Regions from separate parts of the Homo sapiens genome. Here regions 2, 3, 4, 5, 6 and 7 are each linked to region 1. The links are contacts of gene promoters, found by promoter capture Hi-C in blood cells and fetal thymus (Javierre and others, 2016). All regions are on one chromosome and are shown on one strand. The core of a region is centred on a gene start or on the middle of the fragment in contact, and the rest is flanking DNA. Distances in the headings are between cores, read along the strand shown.

Evidence for each region. The method cuts DNA at HindIII sites, captures the fragments that hold promoters and counts their contacts. A CHiCAGO score of 5 or more calls a contact.
Region 2: a contact is called between a fragment that was not itself captured here and the fragment with the promoter of CAVIN3 in region 1, in 1 of 17 cell types (neutrophils). The highest score is 5.2, in neutrophils.
Region 3: a contact is called between a fragment that was not itself captured here and the fragment with the promoter of CAVIN3 in region 1, in 1 of 17 cell types (monocytes). The highest score is 5.1, in monocytes.
Region 4: a contact is called between a fragment that was not itself captured here and the fragment with the promoter of CAVIN3 in region 1, in 6 of 17 cell types (monocytes, neutrophils, M2 macrophages and 3 more). The highest score is 11.6, in monocytes.
Region 5: a contact is called between a fragment that was not itself captured here and the fragment with the promoter of CAVIN3 in region 1, in 4 of 17 cell types (monocytes, M2 macrophages, neutrophils and 1 more). The highest score is 8.1, in monocytes.
Region 6: a fragment that was not itself captured here is called in contact with the fragment with the promoter of CAVIN3 in region 1 in 15 of 17 cell types (monocytes, M2 macrophages, M0 macrophages and 12 more); the score reaches 30.1 in monocytes.
Region 7: a fragment that was not itself captured here is called in contact with the fragment with the promoter of CAVIN3 in region 1 in 8 of 17 cell types (M2 macrophages, M1 macrophages, monocytes and 5 more); the score reaches 17.2 in M2 macrophages.

What each region holds. Positions count from the first base shown.
Region 1 is chr11:6,319,251-6,322,768 of GRCh38, reverse strand. It overlaps CAVIN3 (caveolae associated protein 3), which reads left to right and starts at 2,268. Exons shown (of 2, transcript NM_145040.3): 1 at 2,268-2,676; 2 at 3,205-3,518. The coding sequence starts at 2,293. It overlaps LOC101927825 (a long non-coding RNA gene), which reads right to left. Exons shown (of 7, transcript XR_930998.4): 1 at 3,072-3,518. RefSeq lists enhancers at 1,502-1,591, 1,622-1,681, 1,692-2,051, 2,262-2,311, 2,855-3,518. The HindIII fragment of the contact is 4,344 bases long and covers 1,540-3,518 here.
Region 2 is chr11:5,966,296-5,970,132 of GRCh38, reverse strand. It overlaps OR56A5 (olfactory receptor family 56 subfamily A member 5), which reads left to right and starts at 1,639. Exons shown (of 1, transcript NM_001146033.1): 1 at 1,639-2,580. The coding sequence starts at 1,639. The coding sequence ends at 2,580. It also overlaps a transcript of OR56A3 not described here. The HindIII fragment of the contact is 6,933 bases long and covers 1-3,837 here.
Region 3 is chr11:6,061,874-6,065,627 of GRCh38, reverse strand. No RefSeq gene overlaps it. Among named protein-coding and RNA genes, the nearest start is that of OR56A1, 33 kb to the right of the region's middle. The HindIII fragment of the contact is 7,475 bases long and covers 1-3,754 here.
Region 4 is chr11:6,006,242-6,009,734 of GRCh38, reverse strand. It overlaps OR56A4 (olfactory receptor family 56 subfamily A member 4), which reads left to right and starts at 2,789. Exons shown (of 3, transcript NM_001005179.4): 1 at 2,789-2,817; 2 at 3,332-3,486. It also overlaps a transcript of OR56A3 not described here. The HindIII fragment of the contact is 8,491 bases long and covers 1-3,493 here.
Region 5 is chr11:6,044,915-6,048,598 of GRCh38, reverse strand. It overlaps the pseudogene OR56A7P. Among named protein-coding and RNA genes, the nearest start is that of OR56A1, 16 kb to the right of the region's middle. The HindIII fragment of the contact is 5,472 bases long and covers 1-3,684 here.
Region 6 is chr11:6,028,500-6,032,119 of GRCh38, reverse strand. It overlaps OR56A1 (olfactory receptor family 56 subfamily A member 1), which reads left to right and starts at 1,362. Exons shown (of 2, transcript NM_001388488.1): 1 at 1,362-1,418. All of the region lies in intron 1 of LOC107984303 (a long non-coding RNA gene), which reads right to left. The HindIII fragment of the contact is 1,300 bases long and covers 1,080-2,379 here.
Region 7 is chr11:5,987,978-5,991,629 of GRCh38, reverse strand. It overlaps a transcript of OR56A3 not described here. Among named protein-coding and RNA genes, the nearest start is that of OR52L1, 2.8 kb to the right of the region's middle. The HindIII fragment of the contact is 3,457 bases long and covers 71-3,527 here.

The DNA.
Region 1 (3,518 bases), core at 1,019-3,518:
TACCCAGATTTTTGTACAGATATCCACTTTTCCTCCCATACCACCCTAATACTCCTGGGGAAGCTGAATCTACTCTACTTCAGAATTGATCTAACTTGTCAAAAGCCAATTATTAGATTTCTTGTCAGTGATTGTTTAGGGAACATAGGCCTAAACCCATCAATGCATGTCATTTTTGTAGCCATAGAATTTGGATTTGGAAAAGCCATGTAACCCAGTGGAAGGCAAGTGTAAAAATTCTGGGAGGCTTCTGGGAAATAAATGTCCTAAATTTTAAGATGGTCCCCTTTTTTTTTTAAGATCTTGTGCAGAGTTGTGAGGCCTGGAATGAAGCTGACACCTGTGCGTATGTGGGCACATACACATGGGTAGGGGGTGTGTGGGGGACATGGGGGAGTGTGAGAGGTGCGGGATGGGGCTCATAGTTGAGCAGTGGAGAGAACTGTAGAAAACCAGATTTGGAGCTGTGAATGACTCACACTTAATCACCACTCTACCAATCCTCTTTTTCAATTATGTTTGAATTGAGTTTCCTGTTACTAAGTACTGTTTGAATTGAGTTTTTGTTCCCTCAGTCTGAAAGCATTTTAACTGGTACATCCCTGATGGATCTCTCTGGGTAAATGTAGTTTCACTGGAAGAGATGGTGATTCCCACCAGATTCCCAAGAGAGCTTATTTTCTCTTGTATTAAGCAGCAGGGGTCAGGCTTATGGCCTTGTATTTGTAGAAATCAGCCATCAGCTTAGCATCACCAGATTTCTGGCATTAGCTGCCCACGTCTGTGGCACTTCAGGCCCATGTAACTATTTCCAGAGTGACACAAGTTTCTTCCACAGTTGTCAACAAGTGGCCCTCACAGGTTCAGTGAGAAGAGGAAGAGGGAGAGAGATCATCAGGATTAATGGATTACTTGCATTTGTGAGACGGTTTGCCAAGTATTGCTACAAACAAGGCACGGGATTTTCTTTTTTCTTTTCTTTTTTTTTTGAGATGGAGTCTTGCTCTGTCCTCCAGGCTGTAGTGCAGTGGAGCAATCTTGGTTTACTGCATTCTCTGCCTCCCAGGTTCAAACGATTCTTCTGCCTCAGCCCTCCCGAGTAGCTGGGATTACAGGCGTGTGTCACAACGCCCTGCTAATTTTTGTATTTTTAGTAGAGACGGGGTTTTGCCATGTTGCCCAGGCTGGTCTGGAACTCCCTGCCTCACGTGATCCTCCCCCCTCGGCCTCCCAAAGTGGTGGGATTACAAGCATGAGCCACCGCGCCCGGCTAAGGCATGGGATGTTTCGAACTGCTGACATTAGAAATTCACAATCCACATCATTAACTGGATCCTCCATGCCCACTCTCTCCCTCTCTGCAGCAGCAATTTCAAATCTTTACTCTCCGCAGTTCCACAGAACACAAGAAACAAACAAACAAGCAAAAAAAGTCAGGCAGGAGCCCAAGTAACCTCTATCAAAGCAAAGACCAGTGCCTAGTCTAACGCTTTTAAGGATTTTAAAAGAGGTGAAGGTGTCCTGCTTATCCTCCAAGCTTGGGTGCTGGGGCCGGGGCGGCTGAGATTTACCAGTGAAACCCAAAGAAAGAGAGGGCAGAAAACTAGAGAAAAGAAACCAGATAATGCTACCCAAGAGGACGAAATAAAGAAGCAGGAAACGAAGCCTGAGGCTAAACCCTGGAGATGACTATTAGGAAAACACCAGAGGATGCCCCGCCCGCCAGCCCACAATGAGCAGCCTGTCCAAGTCACAAAGCGGGGCCTCGGGCCTTGACAGTTCGCGATCTGTAAGCAGAATGTTCCAGGGCCTCCCTGTCGCCTGCATCCAGCCTGGGGGCAATCTTCACTGGTGTGGGAGGCCGAAAGTGGACGGCGACGGAGGCCCCTCTGGTTATCTCTTTGCCGTGCCAACACAGTCTCTGCGCCCACTAAGATGCATGAAATAAAAATTTCCGTGACTCGCCCTTTGCAGTGGAGAACTGAAACAGGCACACCAGGGAATTGGAGCGGAGGAGGGTAACTCAAACTCAGAGTGAGAGGGTTTGCAGGGGGCCGATTTGGGGCCAACAGGCTTCCCAGCAGGCCCCCGGCGCGGGACAGCGGAAGGCGAAACGCTTTCAAGAGACCCCGCTGCCAACATCCCCACGCCCTCGCGCCCTCCCGCCGCCCCAGAAGGCCAACTCCGCCTGCCTGAGTCACAGCTGGAGCTGGGGAGGAGCCAGGGAAAGGAGGCCCCTGACCGTAGTGCGGCCAGCAGTTGCAGGCAGACGGAGCAGAGCGGTCAGGGATCATGAGGGAGAGTGCGTTGGAGCGGGGGCCTGTGCCCGAGGCGCCGGCGGGGGGTCCCGTGCACGCCGTGACGGTGGTGACCCTGCTGGAGAAGCTGGCCTCCATGCTGGAGACTCTGCGGGAGCGGCAGGGAGGCCTGGCTCGAAGGCAGGGAGGCCTGGCAGGGTCCGTGCGCCGCATCCAGAGCGGCCTGGGCGCTCTGAGTCGCAGCCACGACACCACCAGCAACACCTTGGCGCAGCTGCTGGCCAAGGCGGAGCGCGTGAGCTCGCACGCCAACGCCGCCCAAGAGCGCGCGGTGCGCCGCGCAGCCCAGGTGCAGCGGCTGGAGGCCAACCACGGGCTGCTGGTGGCGCGCGGGAAGCTCCACGTTCTGCTCTTCAAGGTCAGTGACCTCAAACGGTCCCCAATCCGAGGCCTTTGCCGGCCTGTGGGCCACCAGCTGGGGGCTCCCCGCTTCCATCCACCTACCACACCCACATTCCTGACCCCTCCCGCCGTCTGTTGCTGTGGAACAGACTCACAGAGCCGCACCCACTTCCCAAGACCCAGCCCCATCCCTCCCTCTCACGCCTGAGCCCCGCCTGGCCAATCCAAGCCCGCCCAGCTCTAGCTCAGGCCACGTCCGCAGAATTTGGTCTGAGTCCCAGCCAATCCCTAAAATAACGGTGGTTGAAAGGGCATTCCGTGACTGCGGGCACTATCCTCTTCTCGCCCCTCACCAGGCCTCACCTACTTTACAGCGTTTTGCAGTTCGCACGCAGCTTTCCCTCCCCTTACCTTCCCACGCCTGCCTTTCCCCCCAGACTCTGGCTGCGGAGGTAAAAGGTTTCCCTTGTGTAATTAAGGAGTGAGTTTCGGGCTGCTGGGGGTAAGGAGCTGCCAGGATCAGTGCTGTGTCCGTCACATGCAGGAGGAGGGTGAAGTCCCAGCCAGCGCTTTCCAGAAGGCACCAGAGCCCTTGGGCCCGGCGGACCAGTCCGAGCTGGGCCCAGAGCAGCTGGAGGCCGAAGTTGGAGAGAGCTCGGACGAGGAGCCGGTGGAGTCCAGGGCCCAGCGGCTGCGGCGCACCGGATTGCAGAAGGTACAGAGCCTCCGAAGGGCCCTTTCGGGCCGGAAAGGCCCTGCAGCGCCACCGCCCACCCCGGTCAAGCCGCCTCGCCTTGGGCCTGGCCGGAGCGCTGAAGCCCAGCCGGAAGCCCAGCCTGCGCTGGAGCCCACGCTGGA
Region 2 (3,837 bases), core at 1,255-3,754, 350 kb after region 1:
TATTTCACATGTATTTTGATAGTTTACAGATCCAATAAACTCAACACGTCAAAACTGGATCCATAATCTCTGCCTCCACAACATATATCAAATCTTTTCAAAGGCTATTTTTTGTTTCGTGAAACTTTCTTAGTCATTTGAGTCAGAACAGATAGTGCAGTCTTAGAATTCTACCCTCTCTTCTTCTACGCAACTAGTCTCACTGTCTTTATATCACTATCATTATATTTATACCTCTAAAATATGCCCATTTTTCTCATCCTCAGAGCTATTTATTCACACAGTGATCACTTCTCAATTGGACTACTGAAGCCAACAGTCACTTGTCCCCTTTTAGATGTCCTTTGCCTCCTCTGGTCCTTTAAGTTTGGGTGTGAAATAGGAAGAATAAATAGATTAGTATTTTTCTCCAAAAAATGAAACCATGGTCTTTATCCAAATGAGGATGTGGGATAGATGAAGAAAATAATTAAGATATGAGAGACTTGAACATTTTGAATATCCATGGGAAGGATTTAGGAAGGGTTGAATACATAGGCAATGGGCTGGATAATCCATAAGTCAGGGTTCCTAAAAAGGTCAAGGTGAATGGAATCAAATTGTGAGGTCAAGGATTGCCATTCAGAGAAGGGATAGAGCCTCGATTCTGCTGGTGCAATAAGGAGAGCAAGGATGTAGATGCTGATGAGTTTATGAGTCTATCATGGGAAGTAGAGGACTTGCATCTGATGTTTCTACTGTCTTTATGAAGCAGTTAGAGAGGTTATCTGAGAGAAGAGGAGATTTAGTATTTGAAAATAATAGAAAATATGGAAAATTGCTTGAAGCAGATAGAGGAATGAATTAACCAGAGAAGGTTATTGTCATGAATATGTGTGTTAAGTTCTCATTTTAGGTTAGTGGTTATAAATGTTAATGAAAACAGCATAACCTTTGAGCCTATCTTTCTATAGGAACATTGAATTGCACTTGTGCAGGCTTGGATTAAATATGTCTAGGATGGGTTGTGACACAGTACCATATGTCAGAGTGATAGGGAGTTTGGGAGTTCCTCTATATATTTAATCAATATTTGCTTTTATTTTCCTCAGGTTTGTAATAGGGTTGGGAGTATATTATATATTTTTTCCATCTCAAATGTACTTTGGTGTGTAATAAAAAGAGAGGAATAATTATTTTCCCCCATCTAACAAATTATGCACTACTTACTGAAAGGACCCTGCAATTAAATTATTTTATGACATATTTATTAATTCTAGATTACTCTGTAAACTTATGAGTGTTTCTAGCCTGTGGATCTATAATTATTCAATTTGCTTTGTCAGTATAATTTGGAATTTTTTTTGTATTTTACAGTATGTTTTAATGAGGTTTTTTTAAATCATTTTCCTTCTAAACCTTTGTCTAGTCTATTTGCTTTTCTAAATTAACTTCAGAAATAATTTACTAAACCTTTCACTATTTATGTTAATATTTACTAAACTTTGCCTTCATTTGGGATTGGTCATCTGTATCTCATACATTTTATAAATTAGAAAATGTTAGCAAATATTTTAACAGCTTTGTTTTCTATTTCTAATTCCTGTGTCTTATCAAACACAATTTCAGGTGAAATTTTCTCAGCTGAGGATTTATTTCATGACATTACCCAGCAACAACTCCACTTCCCCAGTCTTTGAATTCTTCCTCATTTGTTTCCCCAGTTTCCAGAGCTGGCAGCACTGGCTGTCTCTGCCCCTCAGCCTCCTCTTCCTCCTGGCCATGGGGGCCAATGCCACCCTTCTGATCACCATCTATCTGGAAGCCTCTCTGCACCAGCCCCTGTACTACCTGCTCAGCCTCCTCTCCCTGCTGGACATCGTACTCTGCCTCACCGTCATCCCCAAGGTCCTGGCCATCTTCTGGTTTGACCTCAGATCAATCAGCTTCCCTGCCTGCTTCCTTCAGGTGTTCATCATGAACAGTTTTCTGACTATGGAGTCCTGCACATTCATGATCATGGCCTATGACCGCTATGTGGCCATCTGCAAGCCCCTACAGTACTCATCCATCATCACTGATCAATTTGTCGCTAGGGCTGCCATCTTTGTTGTGGCCAGGAATGGCCTTCTTACTATGCCTATCCCCATACTTTCTTCTCGACTCAGATACTGTGCAGGACACATCATCAAGAACTGCATCTGTACTAACGTGTCTGTGTCTAAACTCTCTTGTGATGACATCACCTTGAATCAGAGCTACCAGTTTGTTATAGGTTGGACCCTGCTGGGCTCTGACCTCATCCTTATTGTTCTCTCTTACTTTTTTATCTTGAAAACTGTGCTAAGGATTAAGGGTGAGGGAGATATGGCCAAAGCTCTAGGTACTTGTGGTTCCCACTTCATCCTCATCCTCTTCTTCACCACAGTCCTGCTGGTTCTGGTCATCACTAACCTGGCCAGGAAGAGAATTCCTCCGGATGTCCCCATCCTGCTCAACATCCTGCACCACCTTATTCCCCCAGCTCTGAACCCCATTGTTTATGGTGTGAGAACCAAGGAGATCAAGCAGGGAATCCAGAACCTGCTGAGGAGGTTGTAAAAAATAAAATGAATGCAACCTGACCTTGAAAACAGAAATTGATATTGGAGAATAATTGTTATGATGCATAGAAAATTTAAATTGTTACTGCGAGAATAAGTTTAGACTTGGCTTTCTTCAGTGTTTCAATTGATTATAGGGATATCTACTCGTTGGATCCTGCTTTCTGTTTCACTGACTGGAATCTTAGTGTTTTGGCATTCTAGAATTGTTTGGAAGTTTTTCTTGACTTCATCTATGTGAGTACGAATTGACAAGCCATAATCACTGGAGCTTAGAATTGTATGGTTTTCAAACAAAGGATAAATATAATTCCAATTATTTTAAATGTTTCTCAATTCCTGTATTGTTTAATACATACATATGTGTTAGATGTCTTGGTTTTCCCTGACTCAGCTCAACGTGAATAATTTTTTTTTTTTTTGCCATGAATGGATCTCTTGTGGACATATAGATGTTGACTCAAGAACTTTGATTCTTATGTAGAGTGAATAACATGTGACATTCACTGCCTCCTCTGTCCTTGACAGATCTTGTTAATATTTTTATCTAATGCTACTTATTTGGAGTGTGAATTTCTTATAGTTTTTTTTCCTAGTGATTTTTACATCTTAAAATGACTCATATTTATGTGTGTGTGTGTGTGTGTGTGTGTGTGTTGCTTTAAGTGAATCTGTGTGTCCTTTTTTAAGATATATTTTACCAACTTCTGACTTCATACTATCCTACCTGACTTTTCCATCAGATTTCTGACACCATCTTATTCCTACTCTTTCCTATTTGTCTTAGATATACAGTTAAACCGTCTTTCTCATCCTACTTTCAGTCCTCTTGTCTCAATCTTCATGTCCTGTCCCTGGCCAGCATAGCTTCCCATAGGATCCAGACATCTGAATTAGTGAGTTTTTAGAACAAGGATAAGTATGTTTTACACTTTGCAATTTTTATCCTGATCATGCTCTGATCAGTATATAGGTAGGACCTATATACTGACCAATATTTCCTGGGATTAAGTAACATTTAGTAGCTAGGCCCCTTTTTGGTTAGTAATAGAGCACTTCATAGATATTATTTTTGAATCATTTCGGAATGTCTCCTAATCTATGATAATCAAATTATTCTTGGAAGACTTATAAGTCAGTTTATCTTTTCTTTTCTTGTTTCTTTTTTTGAGATAGGGAGACAGGGTCTTACTCTATCGCCCAGGCTGGAGTTCAGTGCCATGATCTTGGCTCACTGCAACCTCTGTCTCCCAGG
Region 3 (3,754 bases), core at 887-3,386, 260 kb after region 1:
GCATGTGTTAATAAATAAGTCTCATTATTTTAATGGTCACTAGCGTATTTCTTCATTAGTCATATTAACATAGTATGTGCTTTTGAATAAATGACTACAAATATTTTTATGACTGGACATTCAATATATTTTTGTTAAAGCAATGAAAAAACATTGCTGTAACAATAACTACTAACACTATTTTCTTTACTACCATCATCACTTCAAACATCACCTTAACCTCAATAGTCTTTGCAAAAGTTGTAGTTTCAAATGGCGGTATTTTGGATGCTGTGCAGGGGCATTGGGGGGCATAGTTACTATTATAAGACAGAATCACTGCTATAAGGGCTTAGAGGTCTCTAAGTGCTCTGGGCAAACTAGCTCTGAAGAATTCTATCTTGAATATGCTGTATTAGTGAGAAATCTTGATAACAAAGGCAGCTCCTGTGTGTTCAGCTCTTACTACATGGTACCTTGAGTTCTTGAAGTAAAAACTTTGCAGATACACTCTTTCATTTATTGGTCACAAAATGCAAATAAAGCAGGTGCTATAATTATTCCCATTTTATTTCTGATGCAATATTATGCTTCCTACTAAGTGGGGATCATTTAGTTTCTCATATCTCTTCTACTTTTGGCATGGTGGTAAGTTTAGTGTCTTTGTTCTCAAATACAATTTTCAGTTCTTTCCTGTAAAAGCAAACAAACAAACAAATAAGCAAAGACTGGTGCTTCTTTGAGGTTCATGTCACTCACTCATATCATCCTCTATCACTTCTGGTTACTGTTATCTCTCCTCTACTCGCCTTCATTAAATGATGACATGGTCCACATCTTCTCTGTTTTTATTTTGCCACCCATGACCCTGGTGGGAGACATCAGTATTTATGTGGATAATCCATTGAACACTCTGGCTTTTCATATTCTCAATTTCTTTATTCCCAAAGATACCTACCTCATCTACCCATTCTCATGACACATCCTTAAACCTCTGTAGAGATCACTGAATTTTCTTCCCCAAAGATCTCCTGCCATCTATGCTTAGCCTTGGCCTCTCCATTTTCCTAAGATGTCATTTTGTTAATGAGATGTTAATCATATCTCAATCCTCTGCTTAAAATCCTTCATGATTTCCATGGCCCTTTAACATGGCCCAAAAGACCCAGTATGCTCGGGTTCCTGCTTGCACTCCAGGCTCAGTCCTGAGTACTACAATCTCTAATTTTAAAAATTCTTTCAGGTCTTTGAAATTACCAGAGTCCTTTTTCTTCTGCTCATGTTTTGTGTACGCACCCTATCTCCATATTGCCCTTCACTTTAACCAAGTCTTCTGGTCACTAACTTAAATTAGGGAGGGCTTTCCTGAAGTCCCCATACTGGGGAGGTCCTTCTATTATATGCTTTTAAAACATTATAGTTTTAATATATAACACTTATAACTGTAATTAATTCTATGATCATATACTTAACATATATCATCCCAAGACCCATGAGAACCATTTTATCATATCGTTTGTTTTTTCCAAAATCTAGCAGAGTACATGGAATTAGTATATATTTAATATTTATTGAATAAATGAATAAATAGGGCTCCCCACAAGCTGTGAATGAGATACTTGTTGACTGGATGAATGGAAGGACTGTGCACTTGAGGCATTGTTCCCAAGGAGAATATGGCCACTGGGTAGAGTGGGAAGCTGCTTCAATCAGAGATGGAACTAACAGAAGGGTCTATTTATGATGGGAAAATATGATAAAGGAAGCCTCAGCCCATCTCATTGGGAACTTCCTTGGAGGGACTGTTGGAGGAGCCCTATTTATCCCACATGTACCATGGCAATGGGTTTGAGGCCCTTGGGTTTGTCACTATCCTATAGAGGAGAAGCAAAGTGCTCAACTCAACCTGAGGCTGGCAGCATTTGTCTTAGGTTGGCTTCCCCAGAAACAGACTCTGGAGCAGAGATTTGCATGCAGGAAGTTTATTGTGACATATATATGGTAACAATGACTGTCATGGAGTGAGAGGAGTGAAATTAAACTGTCATGGAGTGAGAGGGGCTGAAGAAGAAATTAAACTATGATCGAGTTGTCTCAGGTGACTTAGCTAATCAAATAGGACCTCATGAGTTAGAATGACTCCTCAGTGTTGTTTAAGATGAAGAAAGGGGGCCAGGACTTTGTATTCTTATATCACCAGTCATTGGCTATGAGCTGCTTGGGGAAGGAAAAGTAATCTTAGGCGAGACTGCTCTCTTTAGCCAAAGGAGAGTGACTTAGTTATCAGCTTCCAGAAGCCAACACTACCTGCACCTGGAGGAATAAGCACATTGAGCCACAGCATTCACTAAAGCATTTCCTGGGGTCTAAGATTGTTCTGTGAGAATGAGAAGTCTGAGCTCACAGAGCAATGTGAAATTTCCCAGCTCACTGCACAAGGTTTCCTATCACCAACAGGATGTACAGGCTTAGGGGTAATGAACAACGCTGAACAGATATGGGCCACCTGGTTAGGTGCAGGAGTCACTCTCCCTGCTTGGCCTCTCTGTCCAATCACCCATCCCTGTGGGCTGTAACTTTAGCTCTGTGTTCCTCTAGTCAATCTAGGGGCTACTTTTGGCTTTGCCCAGGTGTGTCTGTGAGAGCTCTGGGACCTGCCAGTTGGTAATAACATCCTGCCTGCCCAGTGCCTTGCTCACAGTCACCATCACTGCCTTGGTAAGGTATCAAGAATGACCTTCCTTTCAGGGTGACGATGACAGAACCAGCGACCCCTGGTGCACAGAAATTCAGGTGTGAAAAATGAGGTCAGTTTTGGGGCTCATGGTGGGGGAAGACTACAGCCAGCTGACTCCTGCCCTTCTCATTTTCCCTGTGACAGAGGTTATTTTTTGGCTTGGCTAGTGTGACTCTGAGTTTCCCAATACGTCTGGTCTGACACTTCTTCGTAGTCTTTATTTCCCCCTGAGTTAAAGTAGTTGCTCTCTCCGGGCCTGACTTCTCAAAATGAAGCCTCTCCTAGTTTCTACCATTTAGATGCTAGTGGGAAGGGAGGCTCTTCTGTGAAATGTGACCTATTTCTCTATCCTTAATCTCCTTCTTAACAGTGGCCTGGACTCTATGACAGTGGGAAAAAAAGAAAGATAAGAAAGAATACAGATGGAGAGAGATTAGGGGACGGCTCATTGCTGCAAGTTAACTTGTGTGCCTACAGGTGCCTACCAATCTCTTTAAGCCTTCATGATCAGCCTGAGGCATTCACAGGACCATTTAGCATGGTCCTAGGTGGCATCCTCACCATCAAATATCATGCATGTAGATACAGTTTACCCATGTGTTGCCAAAGCTAGTACTCATGTTTCATATCTTTGGGAAACTTTAGCTGTACAGACCTCGAGGGATGCATTTGATGTCCTCTTTGGCATTCAGAGACTGCTGTGCAGCCCTTCTGAAGAGAAAGTCCTCTTTATCATTGTTACACATAAGCTAAGGCAGAAGACCATTGTGGAGGTTGAACAGAGGACTCAGGGTGTTCCTGGAGATGAGCAGGGAGGGCTATAACAGAACCTTCCTGAATCTGGGAATTTTCTCCCTTTCCTAGTTTTCTTTGTGCTGCTGAGTCTCCCTCCAGGTTGACCCAAGACTTTAAAGGGCACATCCTCAAAGACAATCCAGAGACCAGTAGGACAGTGCCCTTTGCCAGGCTTACTTTATTGATTATCTATGTGTCTCCGATTTGTGCAGTGAAGCTCTGCCTCTTAGTGCTTGATTTCTG
Region 4 (3,493 bases), core at 768-3,267, 310 kb after region 1:
AAATCTAGACTCATTTACTAACATCCAAAACCCCAAAGACAAAAAGTTCTGAATAGAGCCGGATAAATAGTACATTACCTATAGAGGAGCGGCAATTTGACAGACAATGCAATTCTTAACAGCAATAGACATCAGAAGTCTGTGGAAATATATAATGTATTATGTGTGTGTGTGTGCATGTGCTCACACGTATGTGTGTGTAACTCAAATAAATTGAAATATATTGAATTGAATATATTAAATTTGAATACACATGTAAAATACTTGTCAATAATCAGATTTTTATCCAGCTAAATCATCACTATAAAAGCTGCTTGAATTAATCAAACATAAACATATTTGTAAAAGCACTGAAGAGTTAAGAAGGAAAAATCAAAATTTTGGAGCAGTTAAAAACTGAGAGAGAGAAACCCTGGATTTACAGCTTCATTTGTTCTGAAGACTTTTGCCAATCTAGAAGAAACCAGTATGAAATGGAGCAAAAATTTGGCAATTTCCTGGCATGAGGAAAGAAAAATCAACGGCAGAGTCTGATGGGATCTTGGTAAATACTCTCAGGATGTGGTTGAACTGGAAATGTATCAGTCTTTGTGTTAACTGGTGACTTTTAAGTTTATTACATCTGCAAAGACCCTGTTTCCAAATAAGATTACATTAACAGATGCTAGGGGTTAGGACTTCAACATATCTTCATTAGGGGTACAATTCAACTCACAACATGCATTACTTAGATTCTACATCAGTAAATTGTGGATTATAATAATATATCTCTCATTTGGTTAATATTCGGATTAGATGAAATAACAGGTAATAATCAGAATAACATGACCCATTAATATCTCAATGAAGATTTATTATGATAAATACATACAGGATATATACAGGATATAAATACAGGATAATACAATCCTTGGTGTAATTATATGTTACATTTTGGTCTCCCTCTAAGATGGCAGGAATGATTCTTTGTTGTACTGCATTTATAACATGTAGTATAGGGCTTAGTAAATTATAGAGTCAAGATTAATGTTTGTTAAATGAAAAAATAAATTGAATTTTATCCTCGCAACTACCATGTATTGAAAGGTTCATTATCCTCATATTTCAGATGAGGAAATTGTGGTTCTGAGAGTCTCTAACATTGCCCAAGTAGAAGCGGCCAGAAAGTGGTAAAACAAGCATTCGAACAAAAGCATCACATTTTCTCTTCCCAACCTTCCCATGATCTGAGAGTGGAGAGGAATTATTTATTTATAAGAAATTCTGAGGATAAGAATATTTTGCACAGTTTAAACTGCATGCTCTTAGCAATATACATTTCCTTGAGCAATTATTCACTCATGAAATAGTTTTCTTCATTTAGCATGTCTACTAACTTTATTTGATGCTTCCATTGTCCTTGGAGCTTTACCTCAGACACCTACATAGCAAGATAGAGATGCGGCCAGAGTTACTGTATGTAAGGAGTGGGATTATATTCCATCTACATTTTTGCCCTAATGTCTCCTTCTCAGAAGTTGTGGGGAGGAAACCATGAGTCCTAGAAAAAGACTTGTTCTTCTCTCTCTAAGATTCTTATGCCCAAAGCCCACATGATCCTGAATATTCTTCAGGAGAGCCTATATTCTAGGTCCTATTGTGCATGAGTGGTGACTGTTCTGGTGACCATTCCATTTGTTTTTTCAAGGAAGCAATGCCAGGCATTGCTCTATGGAAAGTGAGTATTGTTAACAATTGCATTGTCCGAAACCACACTTACGAAACAAAAAGTTTAGACAAAGAAAAGCCATGAAGATAAAATCTTGGACATGACACCATGAGCATGAAGAGGGCCACTCCCAGGGATCTCTGGGGTCCAGACCACTGATACTCCCACTGCATGAGAAAGGTTCACAGGAAAAGCACTCTCTGCTCCCCTCAACTGGCCACGGTCCATGCTCCTTTCATTGGTGGGAATGTTCCTCTAGTACTTCCCTCTAGAGTTACAGTGCTGAGGATAGCCTGATTCAGTTTCTTCCTTACTGGTGTATTCAGAGAAATTATCCTGAAAGAATTCCCATCACTCAGTTTCCTTACACTTTTTTTTTCTAGGATTTCTTTTTCTTTTTCTTTCTCTTCCCTCCTTTCTTCCTATCTTTCCTTTCTTATTTTTAAAATAAAATTATATATAAAGTGTAAAAAGTGATGTTTTGATACACATAGAGTGCATCACACTGAATACTACAGTCACACTAATTAGCACATCCATTGCTTTACATCGTTACCTTTTCTTGTGGTGGCAAGTCTTAAGATCTATTGTCTTAGCAAATTTTAACCATATGATAAAATATTATTCCCATCCCCACACTTCACATTAGATCTCTAGAACTTATTCATACTTGTAACAGAAATTTTATATCCTTTGACAAACATCTCTCCATTTCCTTCTCTCCCTGCCCCTTGGTAACCACCAATCTACTCTTTGCTTCTGTGAATTTGACTTTTTAAGGTTTCACACATGATGTGAAATTATGCAATATTTTTCTTTCTGTGTCTGGCTTATTTTACCTAGATGAATGCCATTTTTGTTAATTAGACTTCCCAAGTGCCTTTGAACTCTTTCACCCTCACTCTACTCCCAATGCTGAACACCTTTCACAACATACTCTCCTGGGACATGGACCATAGGGCCCCAGGATCCAGGTGCCTAATAATGGCACTAACTCTTGTGAGTAGTGTGGAGGGAAGGGACTAGTGGAGTCAGGGTCCATAAAATCAGCCTCTGCAGCTCCTGTAGAAAACAGCAAGAAATAGCAGCAGTACAGCCTTCTGAATTTGGTGAGTCTCAAGGTGGGGCCAAGGAAATTATGAGGAAGAGGATGCTGATGAGTGGAGGGGGAATCCAGGAGCCTGGTGTGAAAAGGATATAGAACTCTTTCAATAAGGCCTAGTGTAGTAGATGACAACCTTGCCACAGTACTTAGGTTCTGGTACAAGCATTACTGACCTATGGCTGTGATTTCCTTCAGAGCTGAGGCTAAGTCATTTCATGGCTTGTAGACTGAAAACTTCTGTAGGCTCAAAGACTCCTAACTATATCATAGCTATGAGGTCAAGGCTCTGTGCCTAGCTAGGTCATAATCTTCCTTTCTTCCCTACATTCATCTATGAACCTAGGTGACTGCTTCTTCTAGGCAATCATAGCTGGGCTCAAATCTTCCATTGCCATTTTGGTTAGTTCAGAATCTGTCTGACTTTTCCAGACTGTTAATGACTCATGGTCAGATACCATGTTTTGCTCATTGACACCTAGAATGAATAACCACAATGACCACTCCTTTGTGAATATCAGTCTAGGGTATGAACTGATGGAGTTGGCATACTGAAGATCGAAAACAATGCCCCAGATGGTCAACAATTCTTCATTTCTCAGATTAGGAGGCCTCAATTTCACTAAGGAAAATTCAGAGGGAGGAAAAATCATTCCAGCTATTAAGGAATTACAAGGTAACTA
Region 5 (3,684 bases), core at 537-3,036, 270 kb after region 1:
AAACATATTCAAATTTCTTTTATTTAAAAAAAATCAACACAATCCTCTTTTTAACATAGGCACTTCTACCTGTGCATTCAGTTTTCCCTTCGTGTGAAGCTGTTTGCTGAAGTAAAGAATCTCTGACAAGGTGATCAGTCCTCCCTGTGTTTGTTCACTCCAGGCCTGCTGTCTCATTGTCCTCCCGCATCTGTTTCTCTCTTCACATGAAACTGTTTGCTAGGATCACCAATGATTACCTAATTGCCAAATGCAATGGATAATCTCTTTCTCACATTGCTGAAATTCTTTATGTGAGCATGTCTGTCCACTCCATTGGATTTTCAATTATGTCTCTGTTCATTCCTTTTCAGTTTCCTTGCAATCTCTTTACCTCTTCTGGTCCTAAGATTAAGGGTAGGTGTTTCATAGAATTTCATTATCATGTTTTATTTTAAATTTACATTTTTCCCTTAAGTAATTTATTCAGTTCTATAGTTTGAATTATACATGATGTGCTGATGATTTCCAATTCTCTATCTTTGAGCTTTCACATGAAATCAAACTACTTTCTACAACATTAAATGTCATATATATTGTGATAGTTTATACACCCAATAAGCTGAACATATCAAAATTGGTTCTATAATTTCTACCTCTGCAACATACATCAAATCTTTTCAAAGCCTATTTTTTTGTCTTGTGAAATTTACTTAGTCATTTAAGTCAGATTGGACAGTGCAGTTTTAGAATCCTACCCTCTTTTCTTCTATACAAGTAGTCTAATCGCTGTCTGTCATATTTATACCTCTAAGATATGCCCCTTTCCCTCATCTTCAGAGCCATCTCAGAGCCATTTATTCACTCACTGATCACTTCTCAGTTGGACTACTGAAGCCAACAGTCACTTGTCCCCTTTTAGATGTCCTTTGCCTCTTTTGGACCCTTAAGTTTGGGTGTGAAAGAAGAAGAAAGAGATTTAGTATATTTCCCCCCAAAATAAAATCATGGTTTTTATACTAAATGGAGATGGGGGACAGATAAAGAAAATAATTAGGATATGAAAGACTTGGACATTTTGAATATTTATGGGAAGGATTTAGGAGAAGTTTAATACATAGGGAATGGGCAGGATGATTCGTAAGTCAAGGTTCCTAAGGTCAAGGTAGATAGCATCCAAATGTGAGGTCAAGGATAGCTATTTGGAGGAGGGATAGATCCTTGATTCTACTGATGTAATGAAGAGATCAAGGATGTAGATGTTGATGGGTTTATGAATCTATCTTGGGAAGTAGAGGACTTGCATCTGATGTTTCTGCTGTCTTTATGAAGTGGTTAGAGAGTTATCTGAGAGAGGAGGAGATTTTGTATTTCAAAAGAACTTTGAAAATTTGAAAAGTTGCTTGAAATGGGTTGAGGAATGAATTAACCAGAGAAGATTATTGTGATGAGTATGTAATATGTATATTAAGTACTCATTTGAGGTTGGCAGTTACACATTTTAATGAGAAGAGCCTGTCTTTGAGCCTAACTTTCTATAGAAACAATGAATTGCACTTGTGCAGGCTTGGATTAAGTATGTCCAGGATGAGTTGTGTCAGCAGTACAGGAAGTCAGAATGACAGAGGTTTGAGTGATTCTCTTTTATATTTAATCAGTGTTTAACTTAATTTTCTTCTACTTTATAATAGGATTGGGAGTATATCATACATTTTTCCATTTCTCATCTATATCTCCTATCAGTATCTCATCAATTTTCTGGATGAGAAAGTGTTAGCAAATATTTTGACAACTTTGTTTTCCATTGACCTAATTCATGTGTCTTATCATACAAAAATCCAGGTGAAATTTTCTCAACTGAGAATTTATTTCATGACATTACCCAGCGATGACTCCACTGTCCCAGTCTCTGAATTCCTCCTCATCTGCTTCCCCAACTTTCAGAGTTGGCAGCACTTGCTGTCCCTGCCCCTCAGCCTCCTTTCCTCCTGGCCATGGGGACCAACACCCACCCCCCCCATCACCATCCACCTGGAGGCCTCTCTGCACCTGCCCCTGTACTACCTGCCCAGCCTCCTCTCCCTGCTGGACATCGTGCTCTGCCTCACCGTCATCCCCAAGGTCCTGGCCATCTTCTGGTTTGATCTTAGGTCGATCGGCTTCCCTGCCTGCTTCCTTCAGATGTTCATCATGAACAGTTTCCTCCCCATGGAGTCCTGCACATTCATGGTCAAGGACTATGATCATTATGTGGCCATCTGCCACCCACTGCAGTACCTGTCCATCATCACTCATCAATTTGTGGCCAAAGCTAGTGTCTTCATTGTGGTGCAGAATGCTTTGCTGCTTTCACCTGTTCCTATTCTCTCTGCCCAGCTCCATTACTGTAGGAAAAATGTGATTGAGAACTGCATCTGTGCCAACCTGTCTGTGTCCAGGCTCTCCTGTGATAATTTCACCCTTAACAGACTCTACCAATTTGTGGCTGGTTGGACCTTCCTGGGCTCGGATTTCATCCTCATCTTCCTCTCCTACACCTTCATTCTAAGAGCTGTGCTTAGATTCAAGGTGGAGGGGGTGGCAGTGAAGGCCCTGAGCACATGTGGCTCCCACTTTATCCTCATCCTCTTCTTCAGCACCTGCTGGTTGTGGTGTTGACAAATGTGGCCAGAAAGAAGGTCCCCATGGACATCCTGATCCTGTTTAATGTCCTTCATCCCTTTAGTCCTCCTGCATTAAACCCTATCATATGTGGATTTCAAACTAAAGAGTTAAAGAAGGAATTTTAGAAGTTGCTGCAGAGGGGCCTTTGAAAACACGGAAGGGACTCTCCATAGAAGCACCTATTACTGTTTCTATTTCAGAAGCTGTGATTCCAGAAAATAAACTAATGCTTAAATACTGAGTATTTCCTACCCATTTCTCTCTCTCCAGTATCAGGAATTAGTGAGGGCTCCTTAGTACCTGACATAAATTCATTTGCCTAGCTCATGTAACTAACATTCTTAGAGATTTAACTTTGTGTTTAGATATTTACATATTTGAACAATCTCATCCTCACAAAAATTCTGCAGGGTAGGATTATTATTCCACTTTATATATTAGAAAACACAAGTTTAGGGAGAAATACTGACAAAGGTCACATCTGATGAGTGGTGGGGCATCAATTCCTCAGACACCATTGAAGCCCTGGTTCTGCTCTGTAGGCCAGGATCTCTCCATCATTTTTATGAATTTGTTGCTGTCAATAGATCTTCTCTAATCACCCTCCACCTTCAGAGTCAAAAAGAACCAAACAGAGGAACAGAACCCAGAGATGTTGCCAATCTTTTTCTGACTGCCCAGGCTTCTGTCACCAAAAGATATTAATCATAGTACTAGTTTATGCCCAGTGGAAGGCTCACAAACCTTGAAATTCTTTATGACAAGACCAGGACACTGAGGATCCAGCTGGCAGAGGTAGGAATGAGAAGACCAGCAGTGTGGGAAGTGGTCAAACTGACTGTGGTGATTTGGGGGCATTCTGTGTACTCAAAACCACACCCCATATGCTTTGGAGCTCAAGAACCAGGAGTGTGGGGAATGTATGTATGGCATATTGTTAAATTTCTGGATGTCATAATCTGGTGAAAATGGGTGAAGAAACAACATATTATTGTAGATGGTAGGCAACGCTGTCATTATTTACATGGGTTATAGAAAACT
Region 6 (3,620 bases), core at 480-2,979, 290 kb after region 1:
CCAGTCAAATGAATCTCTCTTGGCCAGGTTACCAATGACACACCCTTATTATAATATTTAATGAATATTCACTGTCCTTATGTTATTGAACTTCTACTTGACTAACAAGTTAGTAAAACCCTTCTTGAAATTTTCCCCTTGGTTTTTTCTGGGGCATCTTATTCTTAAGATTTTCTTTATACCTTTCTAGCCCTTCCATTTATGTCTCCCTTTTCTTTTTCCACCCCTTCAATGTTACTATTTTCTAGGGTTCCAATCTTAGCCTTGTGCTATTCCAACTCTACAGGCTATGTTCTAATGCTTTCTGAATTTATGTCCTAAACTACGATCCTTCTAATTTTCTCAAACTCTTCAGTTTGAAACAGCCGAAAACAAATCTATGTGTGGCGATTATAAACACCTCGTTCTTGACATATCCCAGTACACACTAATCTTACTCATTTAGCTGTATTTTACATCTTGGTGATGCAACTTATTTACTCAAGCTAGTAAACCGGGGGTCACTCTGGGCTTCTCACCTATTTTCTCCTTTAAAACAAATCTGTCAATAAGTTCTGTCTATATGACTTCTGGAAGATTCACCTTCTTCCCATCCTCAGTGCCTCAGCCTTTGTTCAGTTGCACGTCACTTCTCACCTTGGCTATTGCGGCCGCCATTCTTTCTATTTCTGCTCTCTTGCCTTACCCAAGTTCATGCATAATAATGTGTCCAGAGTGATCTTTCTGTACGTACCCTAAATCTGGTCATGTCTCTCTTCTAATGGAAATATTTTTTTCCATTTCTTTTCATCCATATGACTAGTTCTAAAATCTTCAGCATAGAAAATGTACTTAAGATCTGGCTTTTTCTTTTATCAACTCCATTTTTGGCTCTTTCTTTCAACTCCTCATCCTTTTGGCTCCAGTCAGATTAAATATTGCATAGAATTTCCTTCCAAAGTTATTCTCAGACTCATCTCCATGCTTTCACATAATCCATTTTTTATATCTTCAATACACTACACAGATTTAATGCATGTAAATCCTCCACATCTATTGAAATAAAACTCAGCTAAGTTGTTAGCAGCTTTAGGAAAGCTTCTCTTTTCCTCTAGGGTTGAGTTCAGAAATTTTCCTTTGTGCCTTCCTATTATTCTGCTCATATGTCTAATTAACTCACTCTACAAATATTTTTAGCCATTTCATGTCAAGCACTGGGCTAATTGATGTTATTTTCATGGCATGAAATGTCTAATTGGGCATTGGAAGAAGGAGTATGTAAGCAACTTATCATATAAATGTATAACTACAGATGATGAGGATGGTTCAAAGTACTACAGAAACATAAAATAGGAGGACTTGATCTTGTGTAAAGGGGGTTAGAACAAACCTCTCAGAGAAGAGAGTATTTGAATTGAGATGTAAAGGATGAGGAGAAAGTAAGTGTTGTGTAGAAGCATAAGATGCACAGCCTTCCAAGAGAAGTGGGATCAGAAAGCTCATGTAACGTTCGAAGATCTGAAAGGACGGTGTGGCTGAAGCTCAGGGAGCAAGGGAGATGGGGTGTTAGATGGAACTGGAAAATGAGGAAGGAGGTAGATAATATATGGCATTGCCTGCTTTCCTTCCTCCCCTCCCTCCCTTCCTCCTTCCTTTTCCTTCCTTCCTTCCTTTCATAATGTAGTCAGTTAACTATGTGTACCTAGCAATCTATCTATACCCTGTTTATATAGTGATGATAAAAGAAAAACCACACATGGTTTCTTCCCTCATGAACTTATGGTCTCATGAAGTTCAAGTAAAAAATTTCCTTTTTATAATATTAGCAATGAGAAGCCACTGAAATATTTTAATCAGATGACTGGTAATATTTATATTTAAAAACATTTCCTTGATTTCAATGTAGAGAATGGTTTATAAAGAAACCTAGACTGCATTAGGAGGCAATATTTACTTTTTACTCGAGGTAATAGTACTTGGATGGTGAGAGTGGATATGGAGAAGTGGATGGATTCCAGGGCTAATTAAAAGGGAAAATGACATGTCTTAGTGGTTTCATCATGTACTTCGTATCATTTTCAATGGGTAGAATAAATGTTCAAGACATTTTCTGGGCGCTGGCTTCTAAAACTGACAAATATTTACACCAGTCACTGAGATGCTGGCAAAAGACCAGGTTTTTAAATTTTGGACTTGGTGAGCTTTGAATATCTTTGGGAAACCCAGGTTGATACATAAAGTAGGCTTCTGGAGAGGTCTAAGTAAGAAACATAATTCAGTAATTTAGTAATAGAGATGGTAATTGTCTAATGACATAGACAAGATAAAAGAAGTGGAAGAAGGGAAAACAGAATATCAGAGAGGAAAGAAGAAAAGCGAAGAAAATGTAGGACTGAAGCTTTAAACTGACGTCAAGGTAGTGGATGATGGATGTGTTCGAGAAAATGAGAGGGAGTGACCAGGAGGTACAAGGTAAACTAGAAGTCTGTGATATATGAATTAGGCCAAAGAGAGTGTTTCAAGGAAGAGGATTTGATCAACTGTTTCAACAAGATTTAACAATAGGGAAGCTGTAGGTGATTTCTGAGAGCTATTTTGTGGAACTAATGGAGATGGAAGCCAAATTGAAGTGAGTTGTGGAATGGATGTAAGGTGAGGGAATGGAGACAGTGAGTGTAAATGCTTGTGAGAGGTTTGTGCATGAAGGGAAGGGGAGAGTTAGAGAAAGAGCCAGAATTCAAAGCTGGGAGAGATGGGATCAATTCTTGAAGATGGACAGATTATTTATTTTAATGAAAGGAAACAAGAAAAGGATGAGAGTATATACACATTATTTATAAGTCTTACAAAATTTTATATAAATTTATAGGATCAAAGTGCAATTTTGTTCCATGCATAGATTGTATAGTAGTTAAGTCAGGGCTTTTAGGGTATCCATCACCTGAATGATGTACATTATTCTCATTAAGTAATTTCTCATTATCCACCCCCTCTCACCCGCCTCACCCTTCTGAGTCTCCATTGTCAATCATTTCACTCTCTACATCTATATGTACACATTTTGAACACATACTTATGAGTGAGAACATGCAATATTTGTCTTTTTGTGTCTGGCTTGTTTCATTTAAGATAATGGCCTCCAGTTCTATCTACGTTGCTGCAAAAGACATGATTTCATTCTTCTTAATAGCTGAGTAGTATTCCATTGTGTGTATGCCATATTTTCTTTATCCTATCATCTGTTGTTGAACTCTTGGGTTGATTCCATATCTTTGCTATTGTGTATAGTGCTGTGATAAACATACCAGTACAATTATCTTTTTGATATATCGTTTTCTTTTCTTTTAGGTAGATACCTAGTAGTAGGACTTTTGGATGTAAGGGTAGTTCTATTTTTATCTCTTTCAGGAATTTCCATACTGTTTTCCTTTGAGGCTGTACTAATTTACATTCCCACCAATTGCATATAAAAGTTCCCTTATACATGTTGGCATCCTTGCAAATATCTGTTATTTTTTGTATTTTTGATAATAGCCATTCTGACTAGGGTAATATGTATCTCACTATGATTTTAGATTTGTAGATTTTATTTTGAAAAGTTGAGGAAAATTTTACTGATTACTTTCTACTTTCTCCATGAC
Region 7 (3,652 bases), core at 550-3,049, 330 kb after region 1:
TTATTTCTCAGCTTGTGTAGTGTGGCTCTCCCAATACCTCTGGTCTGACACTTCTTAGTAGTCTTAAGCTTATTTCTCTGAGTTAGAATAGTTGTTCTCTCCTGGCCTGACTCCTCAAACAAACTTTCTCCTCCTGGCTTCTACCATTTAGATGCTAGTGGACATGGAGGCTCTTCTATGAAATGTGACCTGTCCCTCTCTCTTTAATCTCCTTGTTAACAGTGGCCTGGACTCTATGACAGTGGGGGAAAGGGAGAGAAAAGAATATAGATGGAAAATGATTAGGGGAGGGCTGAGAGCTAACCTGTGAGCCTGTGGACACCTACCAATGTCTTTAACCCTTCATGGTCAGCCTGAGGCATTCACAGGGCCATTTGGCATGGTCCTAGGTGGCATCCTCACCATATGTATTGCGTATGTAGATACAGCTGATTTGCTACCTTTACTCAAGTCTTGCCAGAGCTAGTACTCATGTTTCATATCTTTGGAAAATTTTAGCTGCATAGACCTTGAGGGATGCATTTGATGTCCTCTTTGATATTCAGAGACTGCTGTGCAGCCATTCTGAATAGAAAATCCTCTTCATCATTGTTCCCCACAAGCTAGGGCAGAATTTCATCATGGAGATTGAACTGGAGACTTAGGGAGTTCCTGGGGCTAAGCAGGGAGGGCTGTAGTGGAACCTTCTTGAATTTTCCAGAAAACTCTTCATGAAAATTCCCAGACCTTCCAGAGTCTGAGAATTTTCTCCCTTTCCTAGTTCTCTCTGTGTTGCAGTCTCCCTCCAGGCTGACCTGAGTCTTTAAAGGGCACATCATCAAAGACAGCCCAGAGACCAGAAGGACAGTGCCCTGTGCCAGGCTTACTTTATTATCCATGTTGTGAGTGGAGCTCTGCCTCTTAATGTTTGATTTTTGTATCTTCGTCTTTTATTAGGTCATTGTCATGGACCCACTCTTTCTGTGCCCTCCCTCCCCTACTGTTTCTGTAAGTTCTTGCCTCTTCTTTTTTACCCTATTATCATAGAGATCAGGCCACTGTTAAGAAGGAGATTGAGGAGAGAGGGATAGATTATATCCCATAGATGGAGCCTCTCTTCCTGCTAGAAGCAGTGCAGAGTGATTACTAGGGACCAAAGAAACCCTCTTATTTCTGAACACATCCAGGATTTCACCATCTTCTCTTATGGCAGAGATTCAGCAGATCTCTTTCTGCCATGAAGCACCCAGAGCATCACTTAAGGTGAGGAATATCGAGGCTCAATCAGTGACACCCTCAAAAGACACGCCACTGTTTGCTACATGATTCCTATGCTTAAATTTAGCCTCTGCCTTATCACCTTCCTGTGATTCTCAGTCTTTTAAGACACTAGTGCACTTATTTATTTTTTAATCTAATAATATGAGTGTTTACTTATTCAGCCAACATTACTGATTACTCACTAGATTCCGGATGCTCCTGGAGCTTGCTCTGGGGCTGCTGAAATAAGTAATGCAGAGTCCCTGCTCTTTAAAGACTGACATGATGCCTGGCTTAGAGTGTGAGGTCTTAATGCAGGGACAAAGTGGTAAAGGCATTACAATAGGAAAGAAAAGGAGACATGTCATACTACCTTACAGAATTTGAGCACAACTTCACAAAAGAAAGGTTGCTTGGGTTGAATTAGATGAATAAGTACCAATTGAACAACATCTACTCTTTGGTAATTGTCCTCTGCTTTGTAGTTGAATAACTAAATACAGCTTTGCCTTTAGGTTCCTGGGAATAAAGTCCTTTCTGCTTTTCCTCTAAGAATCATAGCGGGACCTCCTGTTTACTTTAATAACAATTAATTGCAATTTATTTAAAAAATTCAAGAGCTTTAAGAGTATAAGTGGTTTTGGTTACATGGATGAATTGTATAGTGATGAAGTCTGGGCTTTTTAGTGTACCTATTATCTGAATAGTGTACATTGTGCCCAATATGGGATTTTTTTATGCCTTATCCACCTCCCACCCTCCCCTACTCTGAGTCAGAAATTAAATTAAAATAAGTTAAAAAATTAACATTTACTAAGCACTTGCAGACTTTTACCCTAGGCTTACGAGCCAAGCAACACAAAGTAGAAGCCGGTTATACTCAGTTACATGTGTCTCTGCTTTTCCGCTTATTTGTTTACTTAATTTACTTCTCTGCTTTATTTACTTACTTCTTACTTTATTTACTTTATTTACTTCTCTACTTATTTATTTACTTATTTCAGCAGCCCCAGGGCTAGTTTGGTTTTAGCCTCACTGCTCTGCTCACACTGCTACTATTCAAGTCTTGAGTGCCTTCCACAAATGCACAGCTGTTCTCTGACTCCTTAGCTAAAAAATGAGAAATGGGCTGAAGCGTGCAACAGAAGGAGGTAGGCAAAAAAGACAATGGACTTTCTCTCTATGTGGAATGTTAAGCACTGAGAGGTGAATTTTTGTAAGATTATGAGATTCCCCTGGATGTCTCAATAAAAATGTCATTGTTATTTCAAGTTGATTCTAGAAGAAAAACAGAGAAACTTGGGAGATATATGCCCACGTGGCATTTCAGACTTTATAGCTATCATATTCAGAGTTTTAGGGCAATATGATTGTCATCATTAATTTGTACAAAAAGAGCTCTGAGTAATCTATGGATGCATTATCCACAAGAACTAAGTCATTCTTGACTTTTTAATCTTTACACGCACATGTGCACCACCACTCCAACAGAGAAAAATACAGTTATTTCAGACTACGCCTGTCCTTTAAGACAAACATACCTACATACACATATCCAGTTTCAAGTTTTTTCTTTTAGTAAATTTCAAGGGTGAATCCCATGGACAAAGTTGATACTTCATGTTAACATGCGGTTGTCAAAGACACTGAATTGTTTGTTATAATATCATGATGAGAGGTAAACATATCAAAAGTTTGAAAAAGAGAAGCAGAGTCATGGAGACAAAGAAGAAAAGAAAGAAGCCTGTGGTCTAATTCTCAGTCATCTTCTATTGCTAATATTAAAATAATTATAACTATAATTTGTAGACTAATCTAGATATCAAGACTTTACATATATTACTTAATTAATGTTTACAATAAACCTGTAAGATTGATGTTAGTTATAAAATAAGGAAATCAAGACTGAGAGAGTTTTAGTATCCTGCCAAGGTTTTATTCCTAGAATATGAAATGGACAAAATTTAAACTAAGTCTGTCTTCCTCCATTGCTTTTATTTATCTCACTACATTGTGAAATGTTCACCATGCTATGTTATAATTATAAAGTATAATAAGATATGTTTCTTTAAAAAAACAAACCATTAAGACACTGATAGAATTTCTAGAGATAAGTCAGAAAGTTATGGATGAATAAAGGAAGATTATAAAGTGCTCTGAACATAATCAATATTCATCTGACATAGGCAATGAGTCCTTTTGAGGGGTGACAGTGGACTTTGAATTTTGAAGGACCAATTCAGATAAAGGAATTTGGAGACAGACTACACAAAAGGCATAGGTAAGCTTGGTGTGTACATGTAACTCCAAGAATGCAGGGATGGTTAGTAAAACATATGTAGAAATATATCAACTGTAAGACAAAAGTAATGCAAAAAAGATAACTTTTGATAATCTTTTATGCCAGTCTCAA